Regions from separate parts of the Homo sapiens genome. Here all the other regions are linked to region 1. Evidence: promoter capture Hi-C in human tissues and cell types (Jung and others, 2019). All regions are on one chromosome and are shown on one strand. Each heading gives the region's core, a stretch centred on a gene start or on the middle of the fragment in contact. The rest is flanking DNA. Distances are from core to core; before and after follow the strand shown. Region 1 holds the start of POMT1 (protein O-mannosyltransferase 1). Region 2 has its middle 23 kb from the start of FAM78A. Region 3 overlaps RAPGEF1 (Rap guanine nucleotide exchange factor 1). Region 4 overlaps PLPP7 (phospholipid phosphatase 7 (inactive)). Region 5 overlaps RAPGEF1 (Rap guanine nucleotide exchange factor 1). Region 6 overlaps RAPGEF1 (Rap guanine nucleotide exchange factor 1). Region 7 overlaps RAPGEF1 (Rap guanine nucleotide exchange factor 1).

The links. The method cuts DNA at HindIII sites, captures the fragments that hold promoters and counts their contacts. A contact is called where the count stands out against the background at its distance.
Region 2: a fragment that was not itself captured here is called in contact with the fragment with the promoter of POMT1 in region 1 in 1 of the 25 tissues and cell types used here (spleen).
Region 3: a fragment that was not itself captured here is called in contact with the fragment with the promoter of POMT1 in region 1 in 3 of the 25 tissues and cell types used here (lymphoblastoid cells, mesenchymal stem cells and spleen).
Region 4: a contact is called between a fragment that was not itself captured here and the fragment with the promoter of POMT1 in region 1, in 1 of the 25 tissues and cell types used here (mesenchymal stem cells).
Region 5: a fragment that was not itself captured here is called in contact with the fragment with the promoter of POMT1 in region 1 in 4 of the 25 tissues and cell types used here (dorsolateral prefrontal cortex, ovary, pancreas and 1 more).
Region 6: a contact is called between a fragment that was not itself captured here and the fragment with the promoter of POMT1 in region 1, in 3 of the 25 tissues and cell types used here (dorsolateral prefrontal cortex, mesenchymal stem cells and spleen).
Region 7: a contact is called between a fragment that was not itself captured here and the fragment with the promoter of POMT1 in region 1, in 3 of the 25 tissues and cell types used here (H1 embryonic stem cells, mesenchymal stem cells and spleen).

What each region holds. Positions count from the first base shown.
Region 1 is chr9:131,501,655-131,504,204 of GRCh38, reverse strand. POMT1 (protein O-mannosyltransferase 1) reads right to left here and starts at 1,287. Exons shown (of 20, transcript NM_001077365.2): 1 at 1,132-1,287; 2 at 1-16. RefSeq lists enhancers at 337-396, 1-633, 634-1,501 and silencers at 967-1,116, 1,187-1,386. The HindIII fragment of the contact is 15,044 bases long and covers 1-2,550 here.
Region 2 is chr9:131,252,033-131,254,582 of GRCh38, reverse strand. No RefSeq gene overlaps it. Among named protein-coding and RNA genes, the nearest start is that of FAM78A, 23 kb to the left of the region's middle. RefSeq lists enhancers at 200-701, 1,897-1,946 and a silencer at 1,653-1,969. The HindIII fragment of the contact is 9,598 bases long and covers 1-2,550 here.
Region 3 is chr9:131,715,905-131,718,454 of GRCh38, reverse strand. The region is part of intron 1 of RAPGEF1 (Rap guanine nucleotide exchange factor 1); the gene reads left to right. Among named protein-coding and RNA genes, the nearest start is that of RAPGEF1, 23 kb to the left of the region's middle. The HindIII fragment of the contact is 3,620 bases long and covers 1-2,550 here.
Region 4 is chr9:131,306,635-131,309,184 of GRCh38, reverse strand. PLPP7 (phospholipid phosphatase 7 (inactive)) reads right to left here. Exons shown (of 2, transcript NM_032728.4): 2 at 1-1,262. The coding sequence ends at 898. Among named protein-coding and RNA genes, the nearest start is that of PLPP7, 18 kb to the right of the region's middle. The HindIII fragment of the contact is 3,885 bases long and covers 1-2,550 here.
Region 5 is chr9:131,697,014-131,699,563 of GRCh38, reverse strand. The region is part of intron 1 of RAPGEF1 (Rap guanine nucleotide exchange factor 1); the gene reads left to right. Among named protein-coding and RNA genes, the nearest start is that of RAPGEF1, 42 kb to the left of the region's middle. The HindIII fragment of the contact is 5,701 bases long and covers 1-2,550 here.
Region 6 is chr9:131,675,303-131,677,852 of GRCh38, reverse strand. The region is part of intron 1 of RAPGEF1 (Rap guanine nucleotide exchange factor 1); the gene reads left to right. Among named protein-coding and RNA genes, the nearest start is that of RAPGEF1, 63 kb to the left of the region's middle. The HindIII fragment of the contact is 6,669 bases long and covers 1-2,550 here.
Region 7 is chr9:131,644,637-131,647,186 of GRCh38, reverse strand. The region is part of intron 3 of RAPGEF1 (Rap guanine nucleotide exchange factor 1); the gene reads left to right. Among named protein-coding and RNA genes, the nearest start is that of RAPGEF1, 94 kb to the left of the region's middle. The HindIII fragment of the contact is 5,406 bases long and covers 1-2,550 here.

The DNA of each region.
Region 1 (2,550 bases), core at 38-2,537:
GGCTCAGGCAGACGCCCTAGAAAAGAAGGGAGGAGCCGTGGTCCATGAGGGCTCACGAGAGGCTACAGAAGGGATCCCCAGCCACCCGGCTCCCGGACACACGAGGAGAACCACAGCACAGCCGGGCTGCTGAGAAAGACCGAAGTTCCTGGAGCCTTGGTTCAGGTAGACATGTGGGGTGAGGGGCACTAGCAGTGAACTCGGGTGGGAATTCAGGGGATCTCAGGACTGGACATTCACTCCTTTCAACAACTCATTCCACAAAACCTGCCGAGCACGTCTTGGGCGCGAGAACACTGCTAAGGAACGCCAGGGTTTCTCCCCTCCCTCCCCGACGACCAGAAGCCCACAGTGCGGCCACAGCTACCTGACCCTGGGCAGCTCCTGGGTGCCATCTCAGCTGCTTACAGCCCAGGGACCCCAACCTGGCCGAGCCTCGGGGCCTCCTCATCTCTCCTCAAGGATGCATCTGCCCCCAGTGCCTCCCTGCCTTCTATCCCAGCGGCACATCATCCCCGGGTGCTCCCTTTCTCGCCTGGAGGGTGCATTTGCACCCTGCGCCCCCACGTTCTCCTCCAGGCTTCATCTTCCCTTGAGCTCCGCTTCTCTTGAGGCTGCATCAGGCCTGGGACACCCTGTCTCACACCAAAGCCGCATCTGGCCGTTGGCGCCCCGCTGGTCTCCTCAGGCCCCATCTACCCTGGACGCGCCCTTCCCTCCCTGAGCTGCATCTGCCTTGAGCGCCTTCGTCCCAAAAGGTCCCATCTGTCCTGGGAGTGCCTCCTCTCCCCTTGCAGACCGCATCTCCCTGGCCGGCCCTTCTTCCCCACAGGCCGCACCTGTCCCGTCCACCAACTCCCGAGGCTGCGTCGGCCCCAGCTCCGTCCTCACCCTGAGACTGCACCCGCAGCACGCCCTTCCTCCCTAGGGCTGCACGCGCCACGGAGTTCTTACTTCGGGGCTCGGCCGCCCGAACGCCGCATCTGCCCGGGCCCGAACCCCGCCCCCAGCTCCGGAAAGACGGGGACGCCCCCGGCCCCAGCCCGTCCGCAAGCCAGGGACCCGCGTCCGGCACTGACGGACTCCCCCAAGTCCGGGCTGGGCTCTCGTCCCCGGTGTCCCCAAATGTACCCGCGTTTCTCCGAGTCCACACAGAGCCGCGCCCGGCTCCCGGCAACGCCTCGGAACCGTCCGACTGGGCCGACGGTTGGGGGTGAGGCCGCTCGGCACTCCGCACCACCCACCGCCCTGCTCAACGTTCGATTCACCGAGCCTGCGGGGCCAGACGGGCAGCAGCGCGCGTGCGCACTGGGAGAGGGTGACGCGCGTGCGCAGCGGGCGAGGGCGCCGGTCCCGGAGGAGAGGCAGGTGTGAAACGCGGCGACCTCCCCTCTCTCGGGTGCTACTGTTTTGTGTGCCAGGATTTCTGTGTACTCTAAGCAGACGTGCAGATTTTAAAAAGCGCAGTGGGCTCCCACCCATCTTCTGCTCCTTGCTTTTTCACTCCATCTGGCGTGAAGATCTTAATTCTGCGTCTGCACAACGGCGTTCTGCCGGGCGCGCCAGTTTGCTCCTAGTTTTTTTCTTTTCTTTTCTTTTCTTTTTTTTTGAGACGGAGTTTCGCTCTTGTTGCCCAGGCTGGAGTGCAATGGCGCGATCTCGGCTCACCGCAACCTCCGCTTCCCGGGTTCAAGCGATTCTCCTGCCTCAGCCTCCCGAGTAGCTGAGATTGAAGGCGCACGCCACCACGCCCGGTTAATTTTTGTATTTGTAGTAGAGACAGGGTTTCACCATGTTGGCCAGGCTGGTCTCGAACTCCTGACCTGAAGTGATCCGCCCACCTCGGCCTCCCAAAGTGCTGGGATTACAGGCGTGAGCCACTGCGTCCGACCTTAATTTTTTTTTTAAGACACGGGGTCTCGCTCTGTCGCCCAGGCTGGAGTACAGTGGCAGGACCACGGCTTGCTGCAGCCTCGACCTCTCTGCCCGAAGCGATCCTCCCTCCTCGGCCTCCAGAGCAGCTGAGACCACAGGCACGTGCCCCCACGCCCGCGGGCGCTCCTAGTTTCCTTGCCGAAAAACATCGATGCCACGATCCTGCTTGCACATACATCTAGCGGTGAAGTGGCTGAGGGTAAGGGCATTTAAAACGGACCTAGGGCCGGGGGCGGTGGCTCACGCCTGTAACCCCAGCACTTTGGGTGGCCGAGGTGGGAGGATCCGTGAGCCCGCTTGAGTCCAGGAGAGCCTGGGCAACACAGCGAGACCCCGTCTCTACAAAAAAATACAAAAATTAGCGGGGCCCCTTGGCGTCTGCCTGCAGTCCCAGCTACAAGGGAGGCTGAGGCAGGAGATCACTTGGGGCAGAGAGGTCGAGGCTGCAGTGAGCCTTGGTCTCACCACTGCACTCCAGCCTGGACTACAAAGTGAGACCGTCTCAAAACAAAAAACAAAACCAAAAAAACCTGGACATCAGTGGGGGCTGCATGACCATCAGAGGCTCCAGTGGGGGCATCTCCCCTAAACTCCGTGGCAGAAGACTGGAGGCTT
Region 2 (2,550 bases), core at 24-2,523, 250 kb after region 1:
GCTGGGATTACAGGCTTGAGCCACTGCGCCCGGCCGATGGAAACTACTAAATGCAAGCGAACACGTCGGAGTGAATGAACTCCATCTCTGTGCCTGTGTGCAGGGAGGTGAACCCGAAATCAACATGGGAACTGGCGAAGGCCAGCCCAGCTCCCTTCAGGCCCAGACGGCACGACTTGGAATGCAGAGGCAGGATTAGTTCCTGTATCAGCCTGAGCCCTGGTTCTTATTTCATGTTCCCTTTTCAATCAGACAGAAGAAGGGTGGGTGTTTACGGCGGGCCAGACACAGCTGGGAGCCCTGCACTATTCCTGGCTGCCACTTGCCTTGCTGAGTGAGGCCAGGCTTGTCGCTCAACCTCACATGCCTGAGTTTCCTAATCGTCAGGCCAGAGACACGCACACTTACCCTGTCCTCCCCGGTCCGGGGCCCAGCAAAGGCATAGCAGTTGTGCTCCGTGTTAAACATGCAAATGGAGCCCCCAGAATAATCACACTGAGCACCAGGGCTTAGCTCAGAGACCAGGGACTCTTCTCTCTAAATACGGCTCAATTCTTCTGCAACATCTAGACCACAGGGGCCTGGCTTAGTGATGTGGGATTCTCAGCATCCATGACAAATGCAGACTGAATGCTGGTCAGACAGTCACACAAACGTATTAAAATGCTTTACCTCAGCTTTATTGGGATACAGTTCACATACCACACAACTCACCTATTTAAAGTACGGTTCTGGCTGGGTGTGGTGGCTCCTGCCTGTAATCCCAGCACTTTGGGAGGCCAAGGCGGGCAGATCACCTGAAGTCAGGAGTTCAAGACCAGCCTGGTCAACATGGCGAACTCCTGTCTCTACTGAAAAAAATACAAAAATTAGCAGGGCATGGTGGCACACGCCTGTAATCCCAGTTACTCAGGAGGCTGAGGCAGGTGAATCACTTGAACCTGAGAGGTAGAGGTTACAGTGAGATTGCACCACTGCACTCCAGCCTGGGTGACAAAGACTCCATTTAAAAAAAAAAAAAAAAGTGTACGGTTCTGGCCGGTGCAGTGGCTCCTGCCTGTAATCCCAGCACTCTGGGAGACCGAAGTGGGAGGATCTTGGGCTCAGGAGTTTGAGACCAGCCTGGGCAACATAGTGAGACCCCATCTCTACAAAAAAACTTAAAAATTAGCCAGGCATAGGCCAGACTCAGTGGCTCATGCCTGTAATCCCAGCACTCTGGGAGGCTGAGGCAGGTGGATCACAAGGTCAGGAGTTCAAGACCAGCTTGGCCAAGAGGGAGAAACCCTGTCTCTACTAAAAATACAAAAATTAGCTGAGTGTGATGGCGGGCGCCTGTAACCCCAGCTACTCGGGAGGCTGAGTCAGAGAATTGCTTGAACCCGGGAGGCAGAGGTTGCAGTGAGCCGAGATTGTGCCACTGCACTCCAGCCTGGGTGACAGAGTGAGACTCCATCTCAAAAAGCTAACAACAACAACAAAAATTAGCTGGGCGCGGTGGCACATTCTCGTCATCCCAGCTACTCAGGAGAATGAGGTGGGAGGTCGAGGCTGCAGCGAGCCCTGATCGTGCCACCGCACTCCAGCTGGGCGACAGTGAGTCCCTGTCTCACAAAATAAAAGCAAATAGAAAGTGTACGGTTCTATGGTTTTAGTATATTCACAGATACGTACAATCACCTTGGCCCAGTTGGGCTCTAGAATAAAGTAACCATAGACCGGATGCCTCGTCAACCACAGAAACCAATCCTTCACAGTTCTGGAGGCTGGAAGTCCAAGATGAAGGCGCCCACAGTTTCTGCGTGGTGAGGGCCACCTCCTGGTTCACAGAAGCGCCTCCTCGCTGTGCGGTCATGTGACGGAGGCCGGAAGGCAGGTCCCACAGCCTCTGGGGAAGGAGAGCCCAGAGTAGCTGAGGAACTGGGGTGCCCACACCAGCCTGCTGGGGGCTTCAAATGTTCTTTTAGGAGTGACAAGGGAATCGACCTGCCCAGCTCTGCAGCCCTGGGGGCCACAGAGGACCGGGGCACAGCCGGCGCCTCTGCTCAGGGCTCCGGCCTCCATCTCTGGGAGCGAGCACCCGTGGATGCCTCACTCCACCCAGGGTCACTGTCGCGCAGCAGCAGCTTTCCAGAAGGCAGCCGGCCATTGACGAGTGACCAGGCGGAGACGGTGAAGGCCAGAAGTTCCTCCAGAGGCCGCGTGCCAGCCCCTCGCCTGTGAGGGGGGCCTGGGTCTCCGGGCTCCCCAGGACGGTGCTTCCTCTTGCAGCTGGGCCTGGAGGCCGGAGAGGGTCATGTGAGCCCTCCTGGGCGGGCGGTGCCTCTACGGCTGTGACCTTGAGCAAGTCCCCCTCCTCTCAGGTCTCGGTTTCCTAGGACATGGAGTGGGGACGGAGGTGGTTCCTCACCTCACGAGATTGCGGAGGCACGTGAAGCCGATGGTCCTGAGCTTCTGGACAAGTGCCCAGCCCAGAGTAAGCGCTTAGCAAATCCGAGTGATTCGGCGGCACCACTGAGCCTCGGTTTCCTCATCTGCAAGACAGGGTTA
Region 3 (2,550 bases), core at 23-2,522, 210 kb before region 1:
CTTGGTTTCTTCTCCCAACTCACAGCCATTCATTCTGCATTTCACAGCCAGAGTGTGAACTGGATCACATGGATCCTCTTTATGATTGCCTGGGGCTTCCCCACACATGTGAAGCGATCCGAGGTCCTCGACGTGGCCTGTGTGCGCCCTGGACTCTGGCCCTTAACTCACTCCCTGACACCCCTCTCCCCGTCACTGTGTCCCAGCCACACTGGCTTTTGTGCTCTTCTTCCAGGTGTTCCTTTCCCTCAGAGCCTTTGCACTTGCCGTTCTCTTACTGGAACATTCATTCCCCAGATATTGTAGGGCACCTGCTGAGAAGCCATGGACAAGAGCCACGGTTTAAAGGCTGCTGGTGCCACCGTTTGCTGATCATGTGATCTTGGGAAAAGTTGCTCACCCATCTCCTTTTAAAAATCAGTTTCTCATTGATAAGATGGATCCTGCGGTAGGGTTTTGGTGAGTTCATGCTGGGGAGTACTCGATTGGAAGAACTGGGCAAACATGAGTTCCTCTTCCTGTGTCCTTTGCTCCCTATCCCTAGCTGCCTCACATCTTTGTTCAGATGCCACCCAGAGAGGTCAGCCCTAACCACTGGGCCCAGAATAACAGATAGGGTGCGCATCACTTTCTGTCCCTCATCCCCCGCTCTTTTTCCCCCTTTAAATGTAGCCTTTTTTTTTTTTTTTTGAGACAGTCTCACTCTGTTGCACAGGCTGGAGTGCAGTGGTGCAGTCTTGGCTCACTGCAACCTCTTGGGTTCAAGCGATTCTCCTGCCTCAGCCTCCCCGGTAGCTGGGATTACAGGCATGCACCACCATGCCTCGCTAATATCTTGTGTTTTTAATAGAGACAGGGACCATGTTGCCAAGACTGATCTTGAACTCCTGAGCTCAGGCAATCTGCCTGCCTTGGCCTCCCAGAGTGCTAGGATTACAGGTGTGAGCCACCGCGCCTGGCCTATTTGCTTCTTTTTTATGATATTTTCCCTCATTGGGAGGTAAGCTCCCTGTCGGCTGCTATTTCACCAGAGCCCAGAATGGTGCCTGGCACATAGCTGACGCTCACTAATTTTTGTTCAGTGGATAGTGAGTACCCATTGTGTATGGACTCCACACCTCTTAAGGGAGACAGGTGCATTTTTACAAGCTTGAGGAGCACAGCCAGAGTGCAGGCTGTGACCGTGTTCATCCTCATGCAGCTCAGTGCAGAGGGCCATCAGCAGTGAGTGGCTCTGTCAAGTTTATCTGGAGGCGGGGAGTTGTAAAGGGCAGAGGCATCACAGCCTGGAGGCTGAGGTCAGCGGGCTGGCCAGGAGAGGGGCTGGAGTCTTCCCCAGTGCGGGCATTACCCCTTCCAATACTGCCATGGTCCAAGTGAAGCAGAGGCTGTGGGACCCGAGGCTGTGGGACCCTCAACACTGATCTTTGAGAGTCCACTGGATGTTGGCTGTGAGGTTTCCTTTGACTCGCTGGAGAGGAGGGACAGGAGCTACAGTGCAGGCAGGCAGGTGCACGGCTATGCACAGTGTCCAGTCGCCGTGTGAGGAAGTGGGAGATGAAGGTGGGAAAGGTAATTTGGGGCCAGACTCCAAAAGGCCTTGAATGCCAATCCACGTACTTAGGACTTCTACCTTTAGTATTACAGGAAGCATCGAGGGGTTTTTATTATTTTATTTTTTTGAGACAGGGTCTGCCTCTGTCACCCGGGCTGGAGTGCAATGGCGCGATCTTGGCTCACTGCAACCTCTGCCTCGCAGGCTCAAGCCATTCTCTCACCTCAGCCCCCCGAGTAGCTGTGACTACAGACACACATAACACAATGCTTAGCTAATTATGTTTTTCCTTTTTTTGTAGAGACAGGGTTTTGCCATGTTGCCCAGGCAGGTCTCAAACGCCTGGGCTCAAGTAATCAACCTACCTCTGCCTCCCAAAGTGCTGGGATTACAGGCATGAGCCATAGTGCCTGGCCACATCAGGGGTTTAAGAAGCATTCTCCTTACATATTTAGACTTTCCACCAAGTCTTCCAAATTTCTCCCTTTCCCATACTGAGGGCTACGTTTAGTTCCTGGCCAAGTCCTGACTTTGTAAAGAACAACAAGTAAACAGCTTCTTCAGAAGGCTGGATGCTGAGCCCTGATTGCCCTTCAGTGAACCAGCCTCATCCATGAAGCTTCTTGAAAAGCCAGAAACTGTATCATTGGGGGGGTCCTTGAAATCTGAAGCAAGGGACAGGTTCTGAGCCCCTGTGTTTTGCAGATTAGGTTGCACAAGAAAGATGGGCTGGTGACTTTGCAGTTCATTTCCGTAGATTGTCCTTCTAGGCCTGCCTGGATAGAAGCAGCCTCGTGTGGGATCCAGCAGCAGTGGCCAGTGGGATGGGAGCCAGCATATGTAGTTGTTGACACATCCCCTGCAGACGTGGGTCGGCGGGCTAGCTGTGGGAGAGCACTGCAATGGGAGTCAGTGACTTGGGGCCTCTAGCCTCCTGTGAAAGGTCTTTTTTCTCTGGACCTCAGTTTCTCCATTTTATTGTAATGAGTTGGGCT
Region 4 (2,550 bases), core at 20-2,519, 200 kb after region 1:
CACGGAGTCCGGCCCCTGGGGGCCAAAGCCTCATCGATGCCCACGGGCGGTGGCCAGCACTTTCCTCGGGCTGTGGCGTGTGCACCCGGCCTCCCCAGAGGAGAGTCAGCTCACACCCCAGGCCCTTTAGCTCTCTGGCAGCAGCTCCCAAAACGCACTTGAGGAACCAATAATTCCTTGGGGGTTAATAGCTGTTCCCCAAGAAAAGGGTTCTGTGGTCAAATAAGTTTAGAAAACATGGGTTAAAGAAGGTTTAGCAAGAAGCTTTTCTATAGGGCTTGTCAGAGCCTTTACGGCAATAACGGCCTTTGTGAATGTCCAACTTGGGGACAGAGTGTGCAGCACTTCCGAAAGTTATTGAACCACAAAACCCCTTTCCCCCAAAAGCATCTCGCAGGCTGGTGTCCCATGGGCACCCGTTGGAAAGTGCTGCCCTAAGCTGTCGATGACCGCTAATGGCAATGGCACCTGCATCAGGCAGTAGGTTGGGGGCATTTTGGCAGGCGTCGTGCTGTGGCGTGATGGGCACAGCCAAGAACTCAACAGTCATGATGATGAAAGGACAAGACAAGACTCGGCCCCTCCCACCATCCTGATTTTTGCTGTTCCCAGAGCAGAAGCTAAATAGGGCTGTCCCCATGGGTGGGTCCTGGCTGCCTAGAGAGGAGACTTGGAGTCCAAGCAAAGGGGCAAGAGGCCTGGCACTGCCAAACACGCTTGTCTCCGGGAGGGGTGGCCTGGGTTCGCCAGCCTCCAGCCAGGAGGGGAAGATGAGGTGGGGGTGGCCGCTCTGACTCCTGGCCGCTCTGTTCCACCCACGCCCGCCACCTCGCCACCCCCTGCCCCTTCTCTAGGGCCAGCCCTGCCCCCAGAGGCTTGTGTGGGCCGGCGGGCGCTTCACCAGGCAGAGATGAGCATCTGGCAGGTGCTGGAGGGCATCCAGACCAGCTCCACCAGACGGAACTGGAGGTAGCCGATGACAAAGCCGGAGAGGACGTCCGTGACGTGGTGGCGGCCGATCATCACGCGGGACAGGCCCACGCAGAGGGCCCAGAGCACCAGCAGCACACGCAGGGGCACCGCCAGCACCAGGTGGCTGAGGAAGAACTTGGACACCATGGCGGCGCGGCTGGCGTGCCCGGCCGGGAAGGCGTAGATGTCCATGGTGAGGTAGTCCAGGAGGCTGGGGCTCGTCTCGTACGGGCCGCGCCGCTTGATGAGCTTCTGCACGCCGGCCACCGTCATGATGTCCAGGAGCAGGGCTGTTGGGGGGAGACAGAGGCCCCTGGGCCATCAGGGCCACCAGCCAGGCCCAGGCCCTGGCCCCCCACATTTCCACCTCGCCTCCCCTTTCTGCTCCTCACTCAGGCCACTCAGCCACACTGACCCCCAGGCAGGGTCCCCTCTCAGGCTGTTGCCTTTGCTGTCTCCCCTGCCCGGCACATCCTGCCTTCCTGTAGCTACTTCCTTTAGCGGAGAAGCCTTCCCTGACCACGCTGTTTGTAAAAAGCCCCCACCACGCTGTCTCCCCTCACCTTGTTTAATTTTTTCATACAGCTTTTCTCATGCCCTGACATAATACGCATTTTATTTCTTTGGGTTTTTTTTTTTTTTTTTTTTTTTTTTTTTTTTTGAGACAGAGTTTCACTTTGTCAACCAGGCTGGAGTGCAGAGGTGAGATCTTGGCTCACTGGAACCTCCGCCTCCCGGATTCAAGCGATTCTCCTGCCTCGGCCTCCTGAGTAGCTGGGATTACAGGCACCCACCACCACGTCCAGCTAATTTTTGTACTTTCAGTAGAGATGGGGCTTTGCCATGTTGGACAGACTGGTCTCAAACTCCTGACCTCAGGTGATCCACCCGCCTCAGCCTCCCATTGTGCTGGGATTACAGGTATGAGCCACTGCGCCCGGCCCTTTTTCCTTTTTTTTTTTTTTTTGATACAGGGTCTTGCTCTATTGCCCAGGCTGTAGTGCAGTGGCCTGATCTTGGCTCACTGCAACCTCCACCTCCTGGGTTCAAGGAATTCTCATACTTCAGCCTCCCGAGTAGCTGGGATTACAGGTGCACACTACCATGCTTGGCTAATTTTTTGTATTTTTGGTAGAGATGGGGTTTTGCCATGTTGGCCAGGCTGGTCTCCAACTCCTGGCCTCAGGTGACCTGCCCGCCTCAGCCTCCCCAAGTGTTCACCCATTACAGGCGTGAGCCACTGTGCCCAGCCCCATTCCCATTTTTCAAAAATTGAAGCAAAATTTACATCTTGTACAGTGAACCATTTTAGAGTGCACGCTTCAGCGGCATTCAGCACATCACAATGTCAGCAGCCACCTCCTCTCTCTAATTTCAAAACATTTCATCATCCCAAAAGAATGCCCCATACCCACGAAGCAGCCACTCCCCATCCCCTTCTCTCCAGCCCCTGGGACACCACCAATCTGCTTTCCTCTAGAGGATTTGCCTCCTCTAGACACTCCATGTAAATGGAATCAGACAGCATGTGGCCTTTTGTGTCTGCCTTCCTTTCCTTAGCATAATGTTTCCAGCATC
Region 5 (2,550 bases), core at 28-2,527, 200 kb before region 1:
TTGACAAGAGGTGTCAGTGGGGCCAGGCGCAGTGCCTCATGCCTGTAATCCCAGCACTTTGGGAGGCCGAGGCGGGCGGATCACCTAAGGTCGGGAGTTTGAGACCAGCTTGACCAACATGGAGAAACCCTGTCTTTAGTAAAAATACAAAATTAGCCAGGCATGGTGGCACATGCCTGTAATCCCTGCTATTCAGGAGGCTGAGGCAGGAGAATCACTTGAACCTGGGAAGCAGAGGTTGCAGTGAGCCAAGATCACGCCATTGCACTCCAGCCTGGGCAACAAGAGCAAAACTGCACCTCAGAAAAAAAAAAAAAAAAAAAAGTGTCAGTGGAGTGTTGGGTGTGAAAGTGTCAAAGAATGAGCAGAGGAGAATTGGCCACAGGGAGCATGGGCGTTCTTGGAGTTTTGCTGAAAGCGGGAGTGAAGACACAAGGTGGTAGTTGTTAAGGGTATTGCGGTCAAGGGAAAGTTTTTTCATAAAGGGTGAAATAATGGCAAGGTTGAATGCTGATGGGAATGACCTGGTAGAGATGGAAACATCGCTCAAGACCAGGAGAATTGCCGGACGAGAGAGAAGTCCTGATTATCAGCTGTGGTGCATTGAGTATTTACAGTCCTTGCTGACAAATCACCCCGCTATTTAGGGAGCTTAAATAACAACTGGGCACCTAGTTTACACTTCTGCAGCTGGCAGTTCAGGCTGGGCTGCTGGGCTCCTGGTCTTGCCTAGGGTTCCTCAAGTGTCTACAATCAGCTGCTGGGAGGGCTTATCCCTGGGCCTCCAGCAGGCTAGCCCAGGGTCCCTCCCGTAGTGGGGTTGCTCACCTGGTCGGGGAAGGGGGGCAGCCCTGAGGCCCCAGGTCAGAAGCCGCACAGTTACCTCTACTTTATTTCATTGGCTAAAGCAGGCCACAGGCCAGCCCAGATTCAAGGGGAAGGGAGAGAGAGACCTGCCCCCTCCTTCTACCCGCCCTTCTAACAGGAGAGTGCAAAGTCATCTTGCCAAGCTGTGGGTATGAGGAGCAGGGAATCGTTTGGCCATTACTGCAAACAATTTGTCACAGCTGTCTGTGAGCTAAGCATGTTGCTTTCAATCATCACAAGAGTTCTTTGGGGTAGGTAGTATGATTGTGATTTTACAGATGAGAAAACCAGGTCACTGAGCATCCAGTAACTTGCTCAAGATCATGCAGCTAGTAAGTGGCAGAATTGGGACCTAAACTGGTCTCTGACGTCAAAGCCCCTTTCTTCCCTATTTTCCCTTCCTGCAAGTGTCTGTTTACAAGGGCAGACTAGAGGGCCCCTCCTCCCTTTGCTTGTTAGGCATGGGAATAATATTTTTGTGGATGATGATTATCTCATAATCAGGGTGGACTGAGGGAGGTGATCATCTTGTTGTGGCTTGCATGTTTACTGTGCGGGGATTGGACAGCTGTATTTATGAGAATCCCTTTGAGGTCACAGTGGTGTGTTATTGACACAGATTCATGTCTCTGCTCTCAGCTGGTCCCTCAGTGCCCTTTGACAGTCTTTGCCCTTGTCCTTGGTCAGCTGACTCTCCTGTCCAGATAGTCACACATGTTCCCCTTCACGCCCCACTTTGTTCCAGGCCTCTGACTTCCTCTGTCTGCCTTTATCCTGGCCCCTCTCTTTCTGGCCCTGACACAGGTACACTCAGCCTCTAGTCCAGGTTCCCTCTGCCCAGGTCCTCTTCCCTCCAGAACTTGTCATCATCAACTGTCTTTTCAACCAACTGGACTTCAAGCTTTCCAAGAGCAGAATCCAAAATGTGGGAAAATTTGAATTAGCATCAGTGAACTTTGTCTCTGACACTGGCTGTATAGTCTTGAGCAAGTCCTGTACCCTCAGGTGCAAGAATCTGGGAAGAGTGGACACTTTGAGCCATCTCCAAGGCCATTCAGGGAGAGTGAGATCTCTTTATGTCCGCCTAGGAAACCCGTGGCCTAGAGCTCAGTTCTGTTCTGTTGCAGTGGCTGCAGTGTGTCCTGGGTGTATACCTGACAGCCCTGCATTTTGCTGCAAGAGCTGCAGCCTTCTCTCTGCCCTCTCCTAATTCAAGCGTCAAAACCTTGTTGGCCCCAGAGCTAGAGCCGCTGCAAGCCACTTCGCTCATTTAGGAAAGCAGGAGGCAGGTCCTGTGCTGAGTCTGCAATCTCAGCAAAGACCTCAGTGAAAATGTTTTCAAGCTCTCTTTGGATAGAGGGAGCAGAGCAGTGAGTAATTAGGTTCAATCACCCATTTCAAGTCTCTGTGACCTTGCTTACATAGGGAGCCCGGAGCTGGGCCCTTCTTGGAGTCCCTGGGTTGGGATCCCAGCCAGCTGAGTGTGAGGAAGGGAGGGAGCGAGAAGGGATGGAGGAGAAGCCTGGGCCAGCAGAGGGCTGCTGTCTCTGCTGCGCTTTCAGCAAGCTCATCTCAGGCATGACATTCAGGATGCAGAGTTGCTCTTTATTTTTTTATGTAGTTTGCTAAGAGAAAATAGCCCCGCTACTTATGTATCAGTGTAATCCAGGGGAAATTACTTAA
Region 6 (2,550 bases), core at 30-2,529, 170 kb before region 1:
GCAGACCAAGACTCGTGTTAAGGCCGAGCTCTGCAGCAGCTGGCCGCTTGTTTGTCTTCTGAGCCTGTTTCATTTGCCTTCCCTGGTCTGCTTGAGCAGAGGAGAGAGGAAGAAAAGCTGTTGGCAGATGTTTTTAGTAAGACCCTTAAGCGTAAGGGAGGAAGCTAATTTTAGTCCTGTTTTTAATATTATGGTAGTTTGGTTGCGTCTTTCCTCTTAGGGTAGAGCATTTTAGCTTTTGTTTTTGCTTTTGCATTTCCTGTGTATATATCCTGAAGCAAAATGGACTGCTAAAAATGTCACTTGGTGTTTGTTATTTTGTGCCTAGAATAACATTCAAGACCCGTGAGCACTGTGAGTCACTAAAATAGTTTTAGGAGAAAGGAATGTTGTCTGTGTTACTCTTTTCTATATTTCCTTCTAGAAATTTTCCAGTTGATTCCTGTGCTTATGTTAATTGGACATCCATAATCTCTTTCTTTTATCATCAGCAATACAGTAACATTGTATTTGTTAGCACATTGCATCTCTACTTGCATGCAGAGCTCTTTAATTTTAAAAGTACAGTAAGTTTTGGAAGAAGATCATGGCTAAAGAGGCAAGTTGCTGGAAAATACAGTTGTGCTGCTTACTCAGTGAACAACCAGCCAACAAGCTGCGTGCACGTTTATTGTGATGAGAACTTAAACACAAAGCAGACGTGTAAGTTCCCCTGGTGTCCCCAGTTCCTAGCACATAGTAGAAACTTTGTAAATATTTGTTTGGGGTAAATGAAGTCAGTAGCACTACAGATAGGAGGCCGTAAGGAAGGATGGTTTCTAAAACAATAAAAAGGGACATCAGCTAGGCCAGTGGTCTTCCAACTTACTGTGTATCAGAATCACCTGGAGAGCTTGTTAAAACAGATTGCTGGGCCTACCCCCAGAGTGTCTGCTTCTGTAGGTGTGGCATGGGCCCAAGAATTTGCATTTCTAAGAAGTCTCTTGGTGAAGCTGCCGTCGTTGTTGGTTCAGGACCACACTTTGAGAACCGCTGACTAGGCTAATGCCTGTGGATGAGAAAAGAGGCTTAGAGAAATTATGTTTTGCCTAATTGACAAAACCAATTAGTGGCTGAAACAACACAGAAGGCCAGGTTTGTCCTCTCACTTCCTAACTTGAGGACAGAGAAATATATTCTGATGTCCCTAACTGGCAGTCTGCTATGATAGTGACCACATGCCCATTTCTTTCTTGGGATTTCGTCCCAGCCTGACAACCTTGGAACAGAACAAGAGGACAGGAGGTGTCGTTCCAGGTATGTGTTAGCTGCACCAGCCACTCTTTGTGGCATCTGCTACCCATCAAAGGACGTGGTTGGGCTGGGAGCCAAGTTAAGTTTTCTCATTGTTTGGCAGTTGTGTCCCCAGATTTTCTTGCCCATCTTGGAGATCTTAGCACAGCCGGGGTGCTTGGGGCTCAGCTGCCTTGAAGGGGACTCAGTCCCCCACACAGGTGATTCCCATGTCCCATGGTGGGCACTGAGATTGGGGTGAGGGGAGCACACTTGAGGGACCCTTCACTTCCTCACAGCCCTTGCCCCTTTCCTCAGGGTGCGCTGGGAAGAACCCCCAGCGGCTGCCCATGCCCACCTCAGAAGCTGTTCAGTTTGGGCAGAAGGAGGTTATTGTGGCCACCTTCTGTCCACGGTTTTCTTTTACATCCTTTCCATTGCACTGTTGGTGCCCACCTCCCCATTCTAAAAGACATGGCCACTGGCTCCACTTAAGGAAGGCACTTTATTGTCATGATTAAGACTGTGAGGCCAGCCTATAATCCCAGCACTTTGAGAGGCCAAGGTGGAAGGATCACTTGAGCCCAGGAGTTCAAGGCTGTAGTGAGCTACGACCATGCCACTACACTCCAGCCTGGGCCACAGGGCGAGATTAAAAAAAAAAAAAAGACTGAGTTTTTGTCAAACTGAGCAGTTCGAGTTCAGGCTGTTTCCCAATCATGCTGTGACTTTGCACCTAGTTCTTTTCTCTGAGCTTTAGTTTCTTCATCTGCAAAATGGCAATTAATGTCTGCCTGTCAGGGCTGGCGTATAGTAAGTGCTCAGTAAATTACAGGCTATCTTTTGAGGAGCAAGAAGTAGACTAGCTCCTGACTAACCCTTGCCTTAAATTCCTCTTCTCTACCTTCATTCCCTGGGGGCTTTCCTGGTACAGGGGCAGGATAATGGTGTGTGCTTACTTTGGATTTTGCCTTGTGGCAATTTGCTGTAAGACATGGTTGGGGAATTCATTTTTATCTAGACATCAGGACCACCAGTACATTGGTAATTCGTCTCTTAGTGGAAGGTGGCTTGTGGGTGTTTGGCTTCTCAGCCTGTTGGGGACCATTTTTAGATTTCTGAATTAATCCTTTCTCATGGCCGGTGAAGAAAAAAACACATGGTGAACCCTGTGGACGGCACGTCCCGGCACCCGCAGGAAGCTGCCGGGCTCCCTGCTCCCGCAGAGCCCTCCTCCACAGCCTCGCCCAGCCCCTGGCTCTTGCCCTCCCTGAGTCA
Region 7 (2,550 bases), core at 20-2,519, 140 kb before region 1:
CAAAGTACATTGTGATGAACTTCTAAACTTTTTTGCAACCTTTTAACAAGTCTAGCAGTGAGCTGCAGAGTGTTGAAGTTGTAGAGGAAATTTAGCCATATACTGGGTGTCCAAAGGTATAATTACAATGAGCAGTGAGCAGGGGGTCCTGGGAGGTGTTAATGCCCCATCTCTGAGGGCATTTGGACAGAGATTGGATCCGAGTGCTCTTGGGTGGATTCCTGAAAGCCTTTCCCCTTCAGCTCTTCCAGGGAGATGCTGCTGCCGGACAGCCTGGTGGCAGGTGGTGATTTGGTGCTCTCATTGTAACCAATGTCTGTGTTCGACATGTCTTCTTGCTAGGCCTCACTGTTCTGGACTAATAGGAATAATGTTGCATTGCCATTTTTTTTTTAATCCTGCAATTCTAGTTTTTTATTATACTGATTGTGACTTGCCCTCCCCCTCACTCCCTGGCTTTACCCACATTTTCAGGGTACACTGTCCTATAGTGTGGAAATGAGGCTTATGTTGCTGTGGAGAGGGGAGGCACCCAGGCTGCAGATGGGACAAGGAGTGACAGAGCAAGTCGGGTGTCCCGGCTGCGGCACGGCTGTGGGGAGAGAACTGTCTGGAGAGGAGGGCCAGTTTTCCTCACCCTCTTCCCCGCCATCTCCTGTGGCAGCACATGGCTGTGGAGCCACAGCCTGGGCGTCAGAAATGAATATGGCCCACGGGGCAGGAAAGGCGATGGGGATTTTATGTCCATCTCTGCCATCGGGGTCTTAGTTTACTCGTTTGTTAAATGAGATCTTTTTGACCAGGGGATCTCAAGTAAACTTTTTAACTTCAGCACATTTCTGATCTGGTCTTTATTCTCCTCTCTATCTCTCCAGGCTCTGAACTCAGACAGACCAAGTTCAAATTCCATATCTGTCACTACAGCTGTGTGGCCTTAGGCAAGTTGCTTAACCTCCCCCACGTCCCACTAAGCCTCAGTTTCCCCACCTGTGAAATAATAGTATCCACTTCACAGGGTGGTTGTAACCTTTAAACAAAATAGCCTATATAAAATCCATAGCACAGTGGGTGCCTCCATGTCCCCGATGAGTGGTAGCTACGATCTGGCCTCTTTCTTCCCTTTCAGATGTTCCCATCCTAGGCCCTCTTTCTCTGCTTTATTACTGGCAGGTATATGGTCTCTGGTGTTGGTATAGTGCCTGTTAAATGTTGTGAACCACTTCATATGCTTTCTCATTCAGTCCCCCACAGTCACCTCTTTAGTTACACGGGGCAGATGTTATTCTCCCCATTTTGTGGGTGACAAGCCCAAAGCCCAGCAGTTGGCTTTGTCTCTAAGCCATCCCCAGACACGGACAGCCTCATTTAGTTTCCAGGCTTATGTGGACCAATGATGGCAATCCATCCCCCACAGCAGGAGGGGTGCGCAGGTGAACGCACCTGCCCTCGGGTTATGCAGCGAGGCAGCTTCAGCAAAGCCAAGGCATGGAGTCCCCAGTCCGAGCCAGTGCTGGATGTGGCTGTGTGGCTGTGAACTCTCACTGCTGGCTGCATTCACAAGGATCCCCAGCTTGACAGCTGAAAGGCTGGAGAATGCACAACACCCAGAGGCCATTAATTCTGGGAGTAGAATCTGAGTTCACGGAGGCAGCCTGGCTGTGCTACATTGTTGGCTCCTTTAGGAGGAGCCCAGGACAGCCTGACTCTTAAACAGCTGATTTGATCTCTCTGCAATGACAGAAAAACTCTCTGCTCTGAAGTGCCTTGCCACTTTCGAGTGCCTCCCATCTTCAGATTAGCCACTTTCTCCCTGTGTGACCTGATGACACATTTTCTTAAAATGTTTCCTGTTCCTCAGCAAGTTTCATCATTGCTGGTCTCTAACACTTTCTGATGTGCTAAGGTGGCAGTGTTACTGTCATAGTCCTCTTCTTGCCTGGTTGACCATGGCTTTAGGCACATCTGAGGTCTGTCGGCACTGCGACTCCTTCACACTCAGGTTCCTCCCTGCCCCGGGCAGATGACATGAAGCAGAGAGCTCTTGTCCACGAGGTGGAAAAGTAAGCGCCCAGCCTCTTGGAAACAGACCGTAAACAAATCTGTCAGGTAGTGAAAAGAGAAAAATAAAGCCAGGGTGCAGGACCCAGGGATGGGGATGAGGAAGGGCACTTCCCCCACCATGGGAGAATTGTGTCTTCTAGTCTGCAGGACACCTTGTGGGAAAGACTCAATGAAAGAAATGACTGGGTCTTTTGTGCATTGTCTGACTAAAGTAGCCATTTATATATTTTTCTTTTGACATTCCCATGAAATAAAAGCCTCTACTATTGAACATTTTTATATTTAAAATGATATTCTGCACCTTTTTTTAAACTTTATTTTTTTAATTGAGACGGTGTGTCACTATGTTGCCCAGGCTGGTCCTGACTCCTGGGCTGAAGTGATCTGCCCACCTTGGCCTCCCAAAGTGCTGGGATTATAGGTGTGAGCCACTTCACCTGGCCAATCGGCACTATTTTAGAAGAAAAGAGCTAGTATTCAGAATCATAA